Regions from separate parts of the Homo sapiens genome. Here regions 1, 2, 3, 5 and 6 are each linked to region 4. Evidence: promoter capture Hi-C in 16 types of primary human blood cells and fetal thymus (Javierre and others, 2016). All regions are on one chromosome and are shown on one strand. The core of a region is centred on a gene start or on the middle of the fragment in contact, and the rest is flanking DNA. Distances in the headings are between cores, read along the strand shown.

What was found. Contacts are between HindIII fragments. The CHiCAGO score rates a contact against its expected background, and 5 or more counts as called.
Region 1: a contact is called between a fragment that was not itself captured here and the fragment with the promoter of C10orf67 in region 4, in 2 of 17 cell types (monocytes and M1 macrophages). The highest score is 7.8, in monocytes.
Region 2: a contact is called between a fragment that was not itself captured here and the fragment with the promoter of C10orf67 in region 4, in 1 of 17 cell types (monocytes). The highest score is 5.7, in monocytes.
Region 3: a contact is called between a fragment that was not itself captured here and the fragment with the promoter of C10orf67 in region 4, in 1 of 17 cell types (monocytes). The highest score is 5.0, in monocytes.
Region 5: a fragment that was not itself captured here is called in contact with the fragment with the promoter of C10orf67 in region 4 in 3 of 17 cell types (monocytes, M1 macrophages and M0 macrophages); the score reaches 9.0 in monocytes.
Region 6: a contact is called between a fragment that was not itself captured here and the fragment with the promoter of C10orf67 in region 4, in 2 of 17 cell types (monocytes and M0 macrophages). The highest score is 9.0, in monocytes.

The regions. Positions count from the first base shown.
Region 1 is chr10:23,685,699-23,688,398 of GRCh38, reverse strand. No RefSeq gene overlaps it. Among named protein-coding and RNA genes, the nearest start is that of OTUD1, 250 kb to the right of the region's middle. The HindIII fragment of the contact is 4,451 bases long and covers 1-2,700 here.
Region 2 is chr10:23,616,947-23,619,707 of GRCh38, reverse strand. No RefSeq gene overlaps it. Among named protein-coding and RNA genes, the nearest start is that of OTUD1, 180 kb to the right of the region's middle. The HindIII fragment of the contact is 6,427 bases long and covers 1-2,761 here.
Region 3 is chr10:23,728,839-23,731,538 of GRCh38, reverse strand. It overlaps a transcript of KIAA1217 not described here. Among named protein-coding and RNA genes, the nearest start is that of OTUD1, 290 kb to the right of the region's middle. The HindIII fragment of the contact is 2,922 bases long and covers 1-2,700 here.
Region 4 is chr10:23,343,235-23,346,057 of GRCh38, reverse strand. It overlaps C10orf67 (chromosome 10 open reading frame 67), which reads left to right and starts at 1,261. Exons shown (of 16, transcript NM_001371909.1): 1 at 1,261-1,489. The coding sequence starts at 1,284. It overlaps C10orf67-AS1 (C10orf67 antisense RNA 1), which reads right to left and starts at 2,101. Exons shown (of 2, transcript NR_155752.1): 1 at 1,968-2,101; 2 at 897-1,634. RefSeq lists a silencer at 1-138. The HindIII fragment of the contact is 9,174 bases long and covers 1-2,823 here.
Region 5 is chr10:23,633,861-23,636,560 of GRCh38, reverse strand. No RefSeq gene overlaps it. Among named protein-coding and RNA genes, the nearest start is that of OTUD1, 200 kb to the right of the region's middle. The HindIII fragment of the contact is 1,115 bases long and covers 758-1,872 here.
Region 6 is chr10:23,709,432-23,712,131 of GRCh38, reverse strand. It overlaps a transcript of KIAA1217 not described here. Among named protein-coding and RNA genes, the nearest start is that of OTUD1, 270 kb to the right of the region's middle. The HindIII fragment of the contact is 1,894 bases long and covers 391-2,284 here.

The sequences.
Region 1 (2,700 bases), core at 78-2,577, 340 kb before region 4:
CCTCCAGGAAGTTCCCATTAAAATGATGAAAGGAGAAGTGTACAGTAACTGCAACTGTTCTCCAGCAACTATTTCTGAACTTTTAAATGACTTATCTTCTTCTTAAAAAACCATCAGAAGACATGTGCTGTTCATGGCTGGGCAGGAAAAAAATGTATTTCAAAGGAGAAATAGTTAGACATGTGGTATGGGTGGGTTGAGGTGAGACAGGGTATCTTTCTAGCTTGAGTTTAAACTTGCATCCCAGAGGTCTATTGATAAGAGCAACGTATCTGTCAAAATCCGCACAACAAACAAAAAGGACTCTAGGTATTTTATGAAAGCAGTAATATACTGTCAGGAATTGGGTGCTCACAAAATCATTGCAGGATCTAGAGGAAAATGTTCTGACCTGAGTCTCCAGAAACGACATGCCAAAAACACAGAGCTGAACTCCTAGGCCAGCCACAGCTTTCAAGGCTGCCTCTGGAGCTCTGATCGTGCTACACCTCTGATCATGCTACACATTTGCTTAGCTGCTGCAGGTGCTCCTGGACCTCCAGAAGGCAGGAGATTACCAGTGCAGAGCAACTGTAATTCATGCAGTCTTCCTTGCCAGCACAATCAGCCAAAGCTGGCAGGAAGATGGGTCTTGCCTCACTTCTTTTTTTTTTTTTTCTGAGATGGAGGGAGTCTCGCTCTGTTGCCCAGGCTGGAGTGCAGCGGCATGATCTCGGCTCACTGCAAGTTCCACCTCCCGGATTCGCCCCATTCTCCTGCCTCAGCCTCCTGAGTAGCTGGGACTACAGGCACCGGCCACCACGCCCAGCTAATTTTTTGTATTTTTAGTAGAGACGGGGTTTCACTGTGTTAGCCAGGATGGTCTCGATATGCTGACCTCATGATCCACCCGCCTCGGCCTCCCAAAGTGCTGGGATTACAGGCGTGAGCCACCGGGGTCTTGCCTCACTTCTGCCATCAAATTCGTGTGTCTGGCTGGTGAGTCTTGCCTGGAATCTAGAACCTTAGATAAAGGAGCCTTGGGAAATGGAGTTTGAGCTTTTCCAACTTCTCCTTTTAGGGGAATGGAATGGAGATCAAGGGAGTCAATGAACAGCAGCAACCACCAGTGGCCAAGAAAGATCTTACGCAAGCATTCACCCCATTCCCAGAAAGGAGGAGTTTAATGATGCTGGGCTACAAGCAGGGAAGGAATCATTCTGAGAACAATAAATGTCTATCACTCAGGTGATTCTCTTACCCCAGTTACTTTGTGTCAGGGTCCTTGAGAGAGAAAAATACTATCCTAGTGTAACTGAGACTCATTACGTAAAACCCCTAGTCACTAAGCAAACAAAGCAACGGTGCTGTGAGTCTCAATAATGGTGTGTAGATTCATGGGGGAGAGAATCTTCCTCCTAAGAAAACTCAGCAGACAGAGCAGACCAGGAAGACCATTGAAAAGTGGCAGCACGAGCAATACTCCTGTTGTCCACAGGATGGATCTGATACAGCAGACCAGCTAAGCAGAGAAGCACCATCCCTGGGAGATGGCACCAGTGCCAGCAGCAACTCCATTTAGGAGGGAACTTCCCAGTTTTCAGTCTCCGGGGCCAGAGAACCAGTGAAGAGGAAACCACGAGCTTCACAAGGCAGCTGAGAGAACCTTACATGAGGGAACCTCTGCAGAGGTTCACAAGTAATTGGGGTATAGTTGAGGAGGGGGTGCTGAACAGCCAGGTGTGATGGTGGCCAATTAGGACAACAAGCCAAACTGACAGTGACAATCAAGGCTTTGTTCACTTACTGCAGCAGTGCAGGCAAAAGGCAAAAAGGGCCCCACAGAAGAGCTCTGGGCAAGCATCAGGAGGATCTGTGCCAACTGGGGAAAATCATCTCACTAAGGAGTCCTGAACAAAAGGCTCCTGCCTTTTTATGAAAGCACAGGTGGGAAGGAAGGAGGTCAGGAAGAAATAGGAGTGGAGAAAAGTGCCTGAGTCAAGCCCTCCCCTCCCATAAGGAGGTCTCTGAATGGAGGTGCCTGGGCTAGACTTGCAGATATGCAAATGAGCATGGTAGACCCAAGGGCCATGAGTCTTTCACTGCAACCGCCTTCAGAAAACTGCATTGCACTGGCTGTGCTCCAGGTCTGGGAAGGAAGGGCAGCTTCCCCCATGAGGCCTGCCAGCAAAGCCTTTGTAAATGTCTATAGTCAGACATGAAAGATCATACAGATGAGGCCAGGCGCGGTGGCTCACACCTGTAATCCCAGCACTTTGGGAGGCCGAGGCGGGCAGATCACAAGGTCAGGAGATCGAGACCATCCTCACTAACACAGTGAAACCCCGTCTCTACTAAAAACAAAAAAAAAAATAGCTGGGCGTGGTGGTGGGCGCCTGTAGTCCCAGCTACTCAGGAAGCTGAGGCAGGAGAATGGCATGAACCCAGGAGGCAGAGCCTGCAGTGAGCAGAGATGGAGCCACTGCACTCCAGCCTGGGCAACAGAGCAAGACTCCATCTCAAAAAAAAAGAGAGCATACAGATGATTTTGGCCTGGAGCTGGACTCCTCAAGGGGAGGCAAAAAGTACTGCTATGATCTGAATGTTTGTGTCCCTCCAAAATTCATGTTGAAACTTAATCCCCCATGCAATAGTGTTAAGAAGTAGGGCTTTTAAGAGGTGATTAGGTCATGGAGGCTCTCACCTAATGCCCATTATGAA
Region 2 (2,761 bases), core at 98-2,597, 270 kb before region 4:
CTTTGTGACAAACACAAAGCAAATTAATCATGTTTTCTGGGCTGAAGGAGCTTGTACTCTAGCAAGGAAGATAAAACATTCATGTAAATAATTGTAACACAAGGTCAATTGCACTATAGGCTGCAAACACGGCATGAATGAAACACGGAAGAGTGTTGGAAAAGTCGTGCTCACTTCTGGTGAGGGGCATCCGGAGAGTTACAGGTAGTAAAGGATAGGTTTGATTTAGGTAGCCAAAAAGGGTGGAGAGAGGAAGTGGGAAGAAGAGGGGAACAGAAAAGAGTGGGGATGTAGTTGGGGACTTAGAAGAATCACACCTGGCAAGACTGGGAATGGAAAAACGTGGAGTCCAGTTAGGGAAAAGCAAGTGATAGGCTACAGATCACTCTAAGGGAATCAGAGACAAGTGAAGGAGTAAGTAATACAGAGAGATGGGCTGGTTGGTTAAAAGGCTCTGATTAAAACTGAGCTTCTCTTGCCTGATATCTATTTTCTTCTTCCAGATTTGTTTGTCCCCACGCCACTGTAGTGCACTCATAAGCTGCTGGTTTTGTTTGTCTGTTTACCTGACTCTCTTGGTTCTGGAGCAGGTCCCTGAGGGCAGGGCTGATGTCATTTTCCTCTTTGTAGTCACAAAACCCAACATAGAGCTTGGCACAGGAATGACTGTAGAATGAATGAATGCCATGCTTTTCGAACCAACCTCTGTATAATAGTTGTCTGTTCAAGATTTTGCCACTGGCGATGATGTCTAAGTGGTTAACAAAGGAGTAAAATAGGATGGCAACTCAGCAGTCAACTGGACAGCAGACCCACCTGGGTCAGAGTCTACCTCAGCTCCTTCCTCAATCTGAGCACTGTATGCAGGTGCTTACCTGACCAACATGCATTACCCTTCTTTGTAAAATAACCATAATAGTAGACACACCCTTTGGTATGCACAGGGGATTGGTTCCAGTAACCCCAAAGACTCCACAATCTGTGGATGCTCAAGCCTCTGATATAAAATGGCTTTGTTTTTGCATATAACCTGTGCTCATCCTCCTGTATAATTTAAATCATCTCTAGATTGCTTATAATACCTAATCCAATGTAAATGCTATGTAAATAGTTGTTAAATTGTATTGTTTAGGGAATAGTGATGAGGGGGAAAAAGTCTGTACTTGTTCAATACAGATGCAACCATCCTTTTTTTCTTCTATCAAATATTTTTGATTAGCAGCTGGTTGAACCCACTAATGCAGAACCCAAGGAGGGTTGACTGTCTTTAGCTGTGAGGGTTGATGTGAGAATTAAATGAGCTAATGTATGCTGGACCCTTAGCACATTACCTGGGACGTAGTAAGTACTTCATTTGTATAAGTTCTGCTATTATTTAACATTAAATACAGGTTGTCAATGACACCTGGGAGGCTGCTCAAGATCTTAGCATGACACTGGCTTTATATTCAAAGCACAGGGGCTGGATAATAAATCTCTGCTTTGGGCTGGGTGAGGTGTCTCACACCTGTAATCCCAGCACTTTGGGAGGCCAAGGCGGGCGGATCACTTGAGGTCAGGAGTTTGAGACCAGCCTGACCAACATGATGAAACCCCATCTCTATTAAAAATACAAAAACTACCCAGGTGTGGTGGTTTAGCCTGTAATCCCAGCTACTCAGGAGGCTGAGGCAGGAGAATCGCTTGAACCCGGGAGGCAGAGGTTGCAGTGAGCCGAGATCGCACCACTGCACTCCAGTCTGGGTGACAGCCTAAGACCGCATCTCAAAAAATAAAAAATAAAAGTCAATTATCTGCTTTATTTTGGAATCTAAAATCATGCCAACAGGATTCTCTTTCTGGTGGGTGTATTTTTTAAAATATTTTTGTTTGGACATAACAGACATACAGGAGAATGCAAAACATTCAAATATGCAGTGCCATGAATGATTATATATAACAAATGTGCTTAAAATATTGTCTTTCTAGTGGAAATCCTCTCACTCTACAGGAAACTGCCACCCTGATTCTTACAGTGGTCCTATTCTAGTTCTACATTTTCTTTATAGTTTTATCACCTTTAAGGTATGATTTCTCCTGGTTTTTTATTTTATATCAGTGAGAAATATAGTGTACCCATTATTTTGTGCCTTGCTTTTTTTGATCCATATTGTGGTTATAAGATTCTTCCCAAAAAAACCTCTGGTTCATCTTTTTATTTTTAGAATTTCAGTGTGCTAATATATGTACAATGTATTCATTCACTTAATATTTTTTCTTTTCACATTTAGGTTTATAACCCACTTGCAGGAAGAGGTTGAGTTTTATCCTTTTCTTGGTTTGCTCAAGCCAGTTCTCAGGCTATTTTTGGGAGAACTCACCGATATTGAGTACAAGGACATATGAAAACATGCCTCTCATATAGAAGATTTTATGAACAAAAATTATTGTTTCCTAGTCATCATTCTGGTTTTTGTTTGTATATATATATATTCATTCTGGTTTTGTGTATATATATATATTCTGGTTTTGTATATACATATATTCTGGTTTTGTATATATATATATATGATATTTATGTTTATATATGTATAATATTTATATGTTTTTATATAGAGAGTATGTGTGTTAAGAATCCAACTGACCAAGAACACAAAGAAGCAGAATAACAGTACAGTTGACCCAAGATTCTTCATGTCTGACACCAGACTTCAAAATGCTGCTGTTTAAATGTGCCAATCTCCCTATCTCTTGAATTCCTCAGAAAATGCATGTTGCATTG
Region 3 (2,700 bases), core at 58-2,557, 390 kb before region 4:
GACTCCACCACTGATATGGACCAAGCAACTGACACTGTACTTCCTTTTTCACCGGATAAGAGACCACTGACCATGAAGCGCTCCTGGTCAGTCCACAGAGAATGGGTAGTACAGGTATTTGTGTCCTCTGGTTCACCTTTTGACATCAGAGGACTCAAAAGTCCACCTTCAGATTATGCTAACACCACTGTTTTTTGTACAGGGGACCCAGGAATGGGCATAAAGCTCAACTGTGCATGTGCATATTTCTTTTATAAACATTCATGAACTTTCCTATGGCTTATTGAGTATGTATATTTAGCCACCTCATTCAGCGTAAATTTCTGTTCCACCTTCCCCTCCCTCAAAGTATCTATTTCTGGCTTCTGGCCAGAGGCTATGATTCCTGGCCTGTCAGGATGGCCATCCTGCAGACTGCAAACCCTTCTGAAAAAAAAGCTCTCCTTCCCAAATTAAAGCATAAAATAAAGTGAAATAAAAGACATGTTCCCTCTTATCACCCCTTTTCAACATTGAACTGGAAGTGCTAGCTGATGCAATCAGACAAGAAAATGAATTAAAAGGTAGACAGATTGGAAAGAAAAAATAAAACTGTCTTTGTTTGCAGATGATATGTTAGTCTATGAAGAAAATCTGAAAGAACTGAACAAAAAGCCTTCTGAAACTAACAAGCAATTATAGCAAGGTTTCAGAATACAAGATTAATATACAAAAGTCCATTGCTTTCCTATATACCAGCAATAAACAAGAAAGAATTTGAGATTAAAACACATTATCATTTATATTAGCATCTCCTCAAAAATAAAATACTTAGGTATAAATTGAACAAAATATATACAAGATCTATGTAAGAAAAACTACAAAATTATGATGAATAAAATAAAGACACTACAAAATGGAAAAATATTCCATGTTCATGGATAGGAAGACTCAATATTGTCAAGACATTGGTTCTTCCCAACTAGATCTATAAATTAAATGCCATCAAAATAAAAATCCTAGCAAATTATTTTGTAGATATGAACAAACTGATTCTGAAGTTTATATGGAAAGGCAAAATACTCAGAAAGAAAATAACGTTGAAGAACTGACACTACTCAACTTCAATGCTTACTGGAATGTTACAGTAATCAAGGCAGTACGGTATTCGCCAAACAGTAGACAAATAGATTAATAAAACAGACTAGCATCACCTGATATTTGACAAATAAGAAAAGGAAATATAATAAAGAAAAGACTATTTTCAACAAATGGTGCTGAAACAACTGAACATCCACATGCAAGAAAAAAAAAGAATCTAGACACAGATGTAAAAAGCAGAACTTTAAAATTCATAGAAGCCGGGCATGGTGGCTCACGCCTGTAATCCCAGCACTTTGGGAGGCCGAGGCGGGCAGATCACGAGGTCAGGAGATTGAGACCAACCTGGCTAACACAGTGAAACCCCGTCTCTACTAAAAATACAAAAAGTTAGCCAGGCATGGTGGTGGGCGCCTGTTGTCCCACCTACTTGGGAGACTGAGGCAGGACAATGGTGTGAACCTGGGAGGCGGAGCTTGCAGTGAACAGAGATCGTGCCACTGCACTCCAGCCTGGGTGACAGAGTGAGACTATGTCAAAAAAAAAAAAAATTTCATAGAAAATAACAGAAGAAAATGTAGATGACTTTGGGCTTTGGGTTTGACAATTACTTTTTGGATACAATGCCAAAGGAATGATCCATGAAAGAAAGAATAAACTGGATTTCATTAAAATTAAAACTTTCTCTTCTTTGAAAGACACTGTCAAGAAATTTAGAAGACAAGCCACTGACTGAAATAAAATATTTGCAAAAGACATATCTGATAAGGCAGCTTATCCAAAATATATAAAAACTCTTAAAACTCCACAATAAGAAAGCAAATAAGCCAATTAAAAAATGGACCAAAGACCTTAACAGACACCCTACTAAAGAAGTAATATAGATATATGAAAAGAATTTCTATATGATATGTCCTCAGATAAATGCAAATTAAAACAAAAATGAGATACTAGTACATACCTATTAAAATAGTCAAAATATAGAACTCTGACACCACCAAATGCTAGCAAGGATGTGGAGTAACGGGAACTCTCATTCATTGTTGGTGGGAATGCAAAATGGTGTAGTCATTTTGGAAGACAGTTTGGCACTTTCTTATAAAACAAAACATATTCTAACTATATGATCCAGCAATCATGCCCCTTAGTATTTACCAAATGGAAATGAAAACTTATGTTCACACAAAAACCTCTACCCAGATGTTTATAGCAGCTTTATTCATAATTGCCAAGCCTTGGAAACAACCAGATGTCCTTCAGTAGGTGGATGAGTAAGTAAACTATGGTACATCCAGACAATGCAATATTATTCACCACTAAAAAGAAATGAGCTATGAAGCCATGAAAAGACATGGAGAAACCTTAACTGCATGTGAGCAGATAAAAGAAGACAATCTGAAGAGGCTATGTACTGTTGGATTCAAACTGTATGACATTCTGAAAAAAAGGCAAAACTATGGAGACAGTAAAAAGGTCAGTCGGGTTGGGAGTGGGGGAAGGGGTGAATAGATGCAGCACGGAGGATATTCTAGGGCAGCGAAGCTGTTCTGTGTGGTACCACAAATGGTGGATACATGTCATCATACATTTGTGTGGGATATTGATGACTGCAGAGGCTGT
Region 4 (2,823 bases), core at 12-2,511:
TGCTGTACAGAGCTGACCAATGACTCATGAAATCTTCTGTGCGATCTCTCTCCTCAGTTTCAAACGATTCATTTATAATTGCACTAGGAAAATAGCCAACAGCTTGTCACATTCTTTACACTGTCTTGGCCCAGCTCTAAACAGATAGGTTTTGAAATTTTAACTTAAAATTTTAATCTTTATTTTAAAACATGTATATACATTGTGGTAAAATATCACTTAGGAAAAAGAAAAGTTATTGTAGATATATAAATTTCTTTCTTTTAAAATACCTTTTGATTATATAATAAAAATTCCCCAAATAAAGTCTGAAGTTAGAGTTTGTAATTAAAAACCTCCAAAGAGTAAAAGTAACTCTTTTTCTCTTCTCTCTTCATCTCCCCCCCAAAAAATAAGCCTTCACAGAAGATGATTTTGGCATTGGTTATGATGTTTTATTGGCATTTGGGGCTTTTAATCTTTGTCTTTAAACATAATAGTAGTGATAATGCTACAGTGCTTTTCTTTTCCTGTTTTGAGCTTCTAAATCCAGCTAAGTTATTTTCACTTACTGTTACAAGACAGAGAAGAGGCCGGGCTCTGTGGCTCACGCCTGTTATCTAGCACTTTGGGAGGCCGAGGGGGGCAGATTGCCTGAGCTCAGGAGTTAGACTAGCCTGCACAACGCGGTGAAACCCCGTCTCTACTAAAAATACAAAAAATTAGCCTGGCTTGGTGCTGTGTGCCTGTAGTCCCAGCTGCTCGGGAGGCTGAAGCAGGAGAATTGCTTGAACCCGGGAGGCGGAGGTTGCAGTGAGCCCAGATCGCGCCACTGCACCCCAGCCTGGGCGACAGAGCGAGACTCCGGCTCCAAAAAATAATAATAATAATAATAAGAGAGAGGAGAAAAAACTTATTTTTCTGTAGATAATATATTGAAATGCAGATGTAGTATAGACAGTTCTAAACCAGACAATGACATTTTAAAAATAAATTTAGCCAGTCGTTTACAGAAAAACAATGACATACTGATATTAGAATAGGTGTCTCCTATTAGTTGACAATGAGTGATACATAATTTAAAACTAAGGATGACAACAGTTTCACTATTAACTCTTATTATTGTAGAAACCTGGTAAAATTGAATTCCACACTAGATGGTATAGTTTAAGACTTAACGCCTCACATTCTGACCTCATTAAATAGAAATCTGTTTAATCTCTGCAAGGAAATATTTTGTCCAGGAACGCCTACGTTTGTGGCAGGTGGAGACAGCTTATTAGGCAGCCTGCTCTCCTCTTATGATGGCCTTGGTCCGGGATCGCAGGGCTCATTATGTCATGAGCATAGTTATTAGATGGGTTCACTGCTTTTCCTCCTCCTTGAGGGGGACCTTTGGCACACGCTGGGAGGCCATGAAAGCCAAGGCCACCGAGCTGCGGGTCTGCTGCGCGCGTAGGAAGCGAGAAGCTCGGGAATTCAAGCCCCCGCAAATGCGCGGGTCCACGAGGTAGGCTGAGCTCCGCGCCTGGGTAGAGGAGGAAGCGAGCAGGGTCCAGGGGCACGGCGGGAGGCTGAAGGGTTATTTACGGGGGTGCAGCTTTCCTCTGGGGTATCGCAGCAGCCTCCAGGCTGTGGGAGTCTTGTGGGGAAGCCTTGAGGCAGGCGGGACAGTGAAAGCGCAGCGGGGTGGCTTGGGAGCCCGCCCCGCCTCCTCCTCCCCCTCTCCACTCCCCTCCTCCCGCGCGTGCTCCCTCCCCATCCTCCTTTCCATCTCTTCCCCCTTCCCCCACTCCTTCCCCCTCTTCCTTCCCTCCACACCTCCTCTACTTCCTTTCCCTCTCCCCTTCCCCCCCATCCCCAACCTTCTCCCTATCCCCCTCCTCCCCATCTCCTTCCCCCTTCCCCTCCCCACCCCGTTCCCCACCCCCCTCCACTCGCGGCCCTCCCCGGCCCCCGCCCACGGATTCCCGCGCTTCGCCGGTTACCTGGGAGTCGCCATGGCAACGGACGCCGGGTTCCCGACTCCGACTCAGGAGAGCGAGCGGCTCCGCGGGAGGCGCACGTCCGGGGCTGCAATGGCGAACTGGGGCGACTCGCCTGAGACAGAGGAGGGCCGGAAGATCATGGAGGGCCTCGAGGCCTCTATTGAACAATTCCAGTTCAACCCCAGGTGACCAGCGGGAGAGGCAGTCCCCGCCGGCCCGCCCCGGAGCCCTCGCGCCCCGGCCCTCGCTCAACGCCTTTCCAGGCCCCTTGCTCCAGCCGCTGGGCTTCAGTTTTTTGTTTGTTTTTCGAGGGGATCACTGTCCGAAAAGAGCTGCAGTTTTCACTTCTTCAAGTGTATAGCTGGACACTAAGAGCACGGACTCTGGAGCCAGACTGCCCGGATTCCAGAATCTTGGCGACCCTCTCACAGGGGCCGTGAGTTAGGCGACTGACTGCTCTGTGCCTCAGTTTTCTCAGCGGGAAATAATCGTTCATGAATGATGAAGAGTAGTGCCTGCTTCATAGATCATAGTGAATATTAAATGAGCTAATCTAGGACACAGTACCCGTCTTAGTCCCCTCGGGCTGCTGTAACAAAACAACATAGGCTGGGTGGCTTATAAGCAACAGGAATTTGTTTCTCCCAGTTCTGGAGGCTGGGAAGCCCACTGGCAGATTCCAGGTCTGATGAGGGTCCCTTCTGCACAGACAGTACCTCCTGGCTGTGTCTCCACATGGTGCAACGGGCAAGGGAGTTTTCCCCCACGTCCCCCACACCCGCTCCCACCCTGCTTTTAGAAGGGCACTAATCCCATTTATAGGGCTCCACTTTCATGACCTAGTCACCTCCAAAGT
Region 5 (2,700 bases), core at 66-2,565, 290 kb before region 4:
GCAAGAGAGAAAAAGGAAAAACCAAGAGTTCTTTTACAAATAGAAAACACAAAACAAGATGGCAGGTATACGCCCAAATATATCAAAAGTTATAATAAAAGTGGACTGCACTCTACACTTAGACACAGAGATTATTGGGCTAGATTAACAAAAATCCAGTGATATTATGTGTGTAAGAACATTATAAAAAGGAGTCACTAAAATTTTTTAAAAGGGAAATTGTATACCAGGCAAATAACTAAAGAAAAACTGGTATTCATTTCTTTCTTTCTCCTTCCCTTTCCTTCCTCTCTTCTTCTATTTCTTCCTTGTCTTTAAGGAAGTTGCCCCACTGAGGTTGGAGGGGGGAAAATCAAATGTGGTAAAATCCTGACAATTTGGGGATCTGGGTGAAGGAGACATTAGAGCATTTGTATTCCTTATAAAACTTTTTTGTAAGCTTGAAATTATACTACTCTAAAATAGAGCTGGGGGGGAAGTGGATATAATTACTACATTCATATAAAAAGGAAAAAAGTGTTTAATGTAGAAAACATTACTAGAGTTTTATAAAGTCCCTTACTAAATATGGGGAAGAAATGATTAAATTCAGCATAACAGAACCCCAAAATAAAGAGAAAATTGACAGAACTCTAAGTATAAATTGACAGATCCACCCTTGTAGTGACACATTTTAAATCTCTGTCTGTCATTTATGGATCTGGCAAAGAAAAAACCCAGAAATGATAAAATATTAAAGCAATACAATTAACAAGCTTGATTTAATGAACAAAGTGTTGCCAGCACTAATTGGATAATACATGTTAATTTCAAGCAAAGAAAAAAACATTAATTAATAAGCACCAATCACATACTGGGACATAAATTTTCAACACATTTCAGAGAATACATATCACACAGACCACATTCTCTGACCAAAATGTAATTTAGAATAAATAGCAAAAAGATAGCAAAACTAGAAATTAGAAAAATCCCAATTCAACACAACTCATAACTCAAATAAGCATACTAAAATGTGTAAATATTTAGAACTGAATGATAATAGGCTGGGTGTGGTGGCTCATGCCTGTAATCCCAGCACTTTGGGATGTCAAGGTGGGCAGATCACTTGAGGTCAGGAGTTTGAGACCAGCCTGGCCAACATGGTGAAACCCCATCTCTACTAAAAATACAAAAATTAGCCAAGTGTGGTGGTGCGCACCTGTAGTCCCAGCTACTCAGGAGGCTGAGGCAGGAGAATCACTTGAACCCTAGAGGCAGGGGTTGCAGTGAGGTGAGATGGTGCCACTGCACTCCAGCCTGGGTGAAAGAAAGTGACTGTGTTGGAGAGGAGAGAGGAGAGGAGAGGGGAGGAGAAGGGAGGGGAGAGGAGGGGATGATAATACCCTAATGATCCCTGTCATTTAGTTGAGGAAGTCATAGAACAACCCCAACCTACCACTACTTCTTTCATTTTATTTCCATAGTTTTTGAGGTACAGGTGGTTTTTGGTTACATGGATAAATTATTTAGTGGTGATTTCTGACATTTTGGTTCACCCATCACTTGAGCAGTGTACACTGTACCCAGTATCAAGCCTACCATTACTTCTACTTATTAAATTTCCACTTATTTGTCAATTTTTTGAATTTTCCTCTGATTTCAATTTCTTCTGTTATTGATTTCTGATTTCATTTCCTCAAAGTCAGAGAACATACTTCGTACGATTTTATGCCTTTCAAGTTTACTGAGGTATGTCTTATGTCCTGACGTATTGTTTATCCTGGAGAATGTTCCATCTGCATTTGAAAAGAATGTATATTTTGATGATTTGGGGTGGAGTATTCTATAGATGTCTGCCATATCTACTTGGCTTACAGTGTTGTTCAAGCTTCTATTTCCTTCTTAACCCACTGCCGTGTTGTTCTGTTCATTATTAAAAGTGGGGTCCCCAACTGTTATTTTTATATTATGTTTCTCCCTTCAATGCTCTCAGTTTTTGTTTAATGCATCTTGTGCGCTGTTGTTAGATACATGTATGTTTTCAATTCTTGTATCTTCCTGATGAATTGACTCCTTTATGCATTATAAACTGTCCATCTTTGTCTCTAGCAACAATTTGTCTATGTTAGTAGAGCTACTGTAGCTCTCTTTGGGTTACTGTTTGCATAGCATAGCTTTTTTCCTCCTTTTACCTTTAAACTATTTGTTTCTTTTAATATAAGTCATTTTTCCTTGTAGACAGCATATCCTTGGATTATATGTTTTAAATCCATTCTGCCAATATCTGCCTTTTGATTGAAGTGTTTCATTTATTGTCAGTGTAATTATTGATAATGTAGAATTTGTCTGCTCTTTTGCCTTTTTACTCTACATTTTTAATATATTTTTTCTTCTTTTGTACCTCCATTACTGTCTTCTTTTGTTTTACATTTACATTTTCTAGTATGACATTTTAATTGCTTGTTGTTTATTTTACTATATGTTTTCAGTTATTTTCTTAGTGATTACTCTGGGGATTATAATTAACATATTATCTTAAAATAATCTAGTTCTTGGACAAAAGGGAACTCTTACACACTATTGGTGGGAATATAAATTAGTACAGTCATTAGGGAAAGCAAGATCGAAATCCTTAAAAAATTAAAAATAGAACTCATTACTGTGATTCAGCAATGTTTCTACTCTATATGTATATATCCAAAGGAAATAAAATCAGTG
Region 6 (2,700 bases), core at 88-2,587, 370 kb before region 4:
CTTTTAGAGGGGTGAAGCCTAGAAACTACATTTCTTCCTTGCCTGTGGGGTCACTAGAAGAGTCCACCATTGAGAATGTCTCACATGAGATTTGGAAGGTGAAGGTCATTCTCTGACAATGTCTGCAGACAGGCAACAGAAGTGGAGTCTGGACTATAGACTTTGGCATCCTCCTGTGACTCACTTAGGGAGCATGTTTCTCTGCGATTCCCACATTTTAGATTTCCTGAAAGTGATCATATCAGGCTTCGTTTCCCATCCTTCAAGGGTTGTGTGAGCCTCTAATTCCTGGAGTTAAACTTCTCTCCACTAAGACACCTTAATTAGCTTCTGTTTCTCTCACTCGTCTTCCCCAGGAGAGGAAGGTGGTTGATTTCATCTGTTGAAGCTTGACATGAACTGGACCATGCTTTCCTGGTGAACAGGGTTACTTTGTCCTTCACTTTCTGTGATGACACCCAGAAGGTTCTCCTTTGTATCTTGTTCCCTTGTAATAAGCACATCTGTGCAGGTCCCCAAACCTTCTACAGTAATTTCCTATTGCTGCTGTAAGAAATCACACACTTACTAGCTCAAAAGAACACAAATTTACTACATTAGAGTTCTATAGGTCAGAAATCTCAATGGACCAAAACCACGCTGTCTGCCAAGAGACTCTAGTTTCTTGCCTGTTCTGTCTCCTGGAGGCTGCTCAAATTCCTTGGCCTGTGGATCACTTTGACCTCTGCTTACATCATCACATCTTCTGTGACCCTCTTGCCTCCCTCTTGTAAGGACCCTTGTGATTATATTGGCTCACCTAGATAATCAAAGGCATTGATCAACCCCATCTCAAGATTCTTAATAGAATCCCATCTGCAAAGTCTCTTTTGCTTTCGGAGGTAAAATAGCCACAGCTTTTAGGAATTAGAATGTGGACATCTTCTGGGGTTAAGGGAACATCATTCCACCTATAATGTCTTCTTTCTGGAACCAACCTGCCAGCCTCATCCATATTCAAGCACACGGTATTGGGGATGGCCCAGAAGATCTGGTGCCTCACTCCTTCTGTATGCACATCTGAGCTTGTGGTGCTCACATCTAGATAAAGAGTAAGAGTCAATAGTCTCACTTTTGATGAAGCCTAAAGCAAATATTTTAATATAGATTTTACAAGGATGTGCACAGAGGACTCTACAAAGCAAAATCACTCTTTTCATTTTCTATCTGGCTAGCAATCTTGCTTCATTGGTTTGCTTTATTGATCAGACCCTAGAGAATAAGAAGGATAGATGGTGACCCGGTTCCCTATACTCATTGTACCCATTCCATAGGTATTTGATGAGCTACCTGGAGATTATTTTGTAATGGCATTTGTTTCTGATGTATCTATTCTGCAATTCAGATTTTGATAAAACAAATTTTTCAAAATCAAGGCACAGCTATATAAATCTTTATTTGAGTAAAAGTTCAACACAACTTGAACTGTCTCCAAAATATAATGAATTTTCCAAAAATACTTTCAACACTTGACACCAAATAGAACACCCACTATGTTTCAACTTTGTATCAGCATAGAACAAAATGCTTTGTAAATTGCTTATCAATAAGGCTACTCTGTTTCTCAGATTGGATGAACAAGTATGCACTATATTCTTTCCATTGTTACAGTTTCTTGAGCCAATACAATCTTCATTATCTACAAAGTCATCTTCAAGACCTTCATAACTGAAGATTTAAATCAATATCAGATGCAGAAGTGTCCTTGGTGACAACAGAGCAACTGTGTTAAAGAGTATAATACCTGCCAGAATGGGAGCTTCTTCAACTGTTTAACTGAGAACAGCATTATTTGATTAGAACACACCAAAGGATTAATGGAAAATTTTAAACTATGTGATGGTAAAGCCAGAAATTACACTGGCCTGAATTGTAATGCAGCTCAGGGACTCCTCGGCCTAGAAAAAGTGCAGTCTGCATAAGGTAACAGAAGGCCCCGTCCCACACCTGCCACTCTATTTTCTCAGTTATTCTCTGAGTCATCCCTTCATTCATTCATGTTCTTTAGTCATTCATTCACTCACTTTGCATCCGTTATCCATCCAACACTGGAATATGAAAGTAAGTAACACACAGTTCCTACCTTCAATTTGCTCACTCTCAACCAGAGAAGAAAATCAGATAATTAACTCTTCACATAATAGGGAAAGTGCGACATAACAGAGTTGTGTTGAAAGCAAGAGAAAATCAGTAATGCTGCCCAGAGAGCTCCCAGCTAGTGACAACATGGCACAATGGCTAAGCTTTCAGACTGTGGGCCCCAACTGCCTGTGACCTTGGGTGAGTTACTTCATCTCTCTAGGCTTTGTATCTCCGAGTTAAACAGAAAAAATGATAACAGTTTAGGTGTAATAAGGACCATACAGGCATAGTAAAAAGGGTTAGATGAGCATAATTAATGCCATATAATTGTGTATAAACACAAGTCTTCATAGTTTCATAGTAAAGCTTAATATCTGAGGAAGGCTTTGAAGAATAGGTAACCATTTTTCCATTAGGAAAGAAGGAGGGGCATTCGGATGAAAGGAAGTTTCTATTTCTTTATTTTTTTTTTTTCTTTTTTGGAGACAGGGTATTGCTTTGTCACTCATGCTGAAGTGCAGTGGCATGCTCTCTGCACACTGCAGCCTCATCCTCCTGGGCTCAAGGAATCCTCCCACC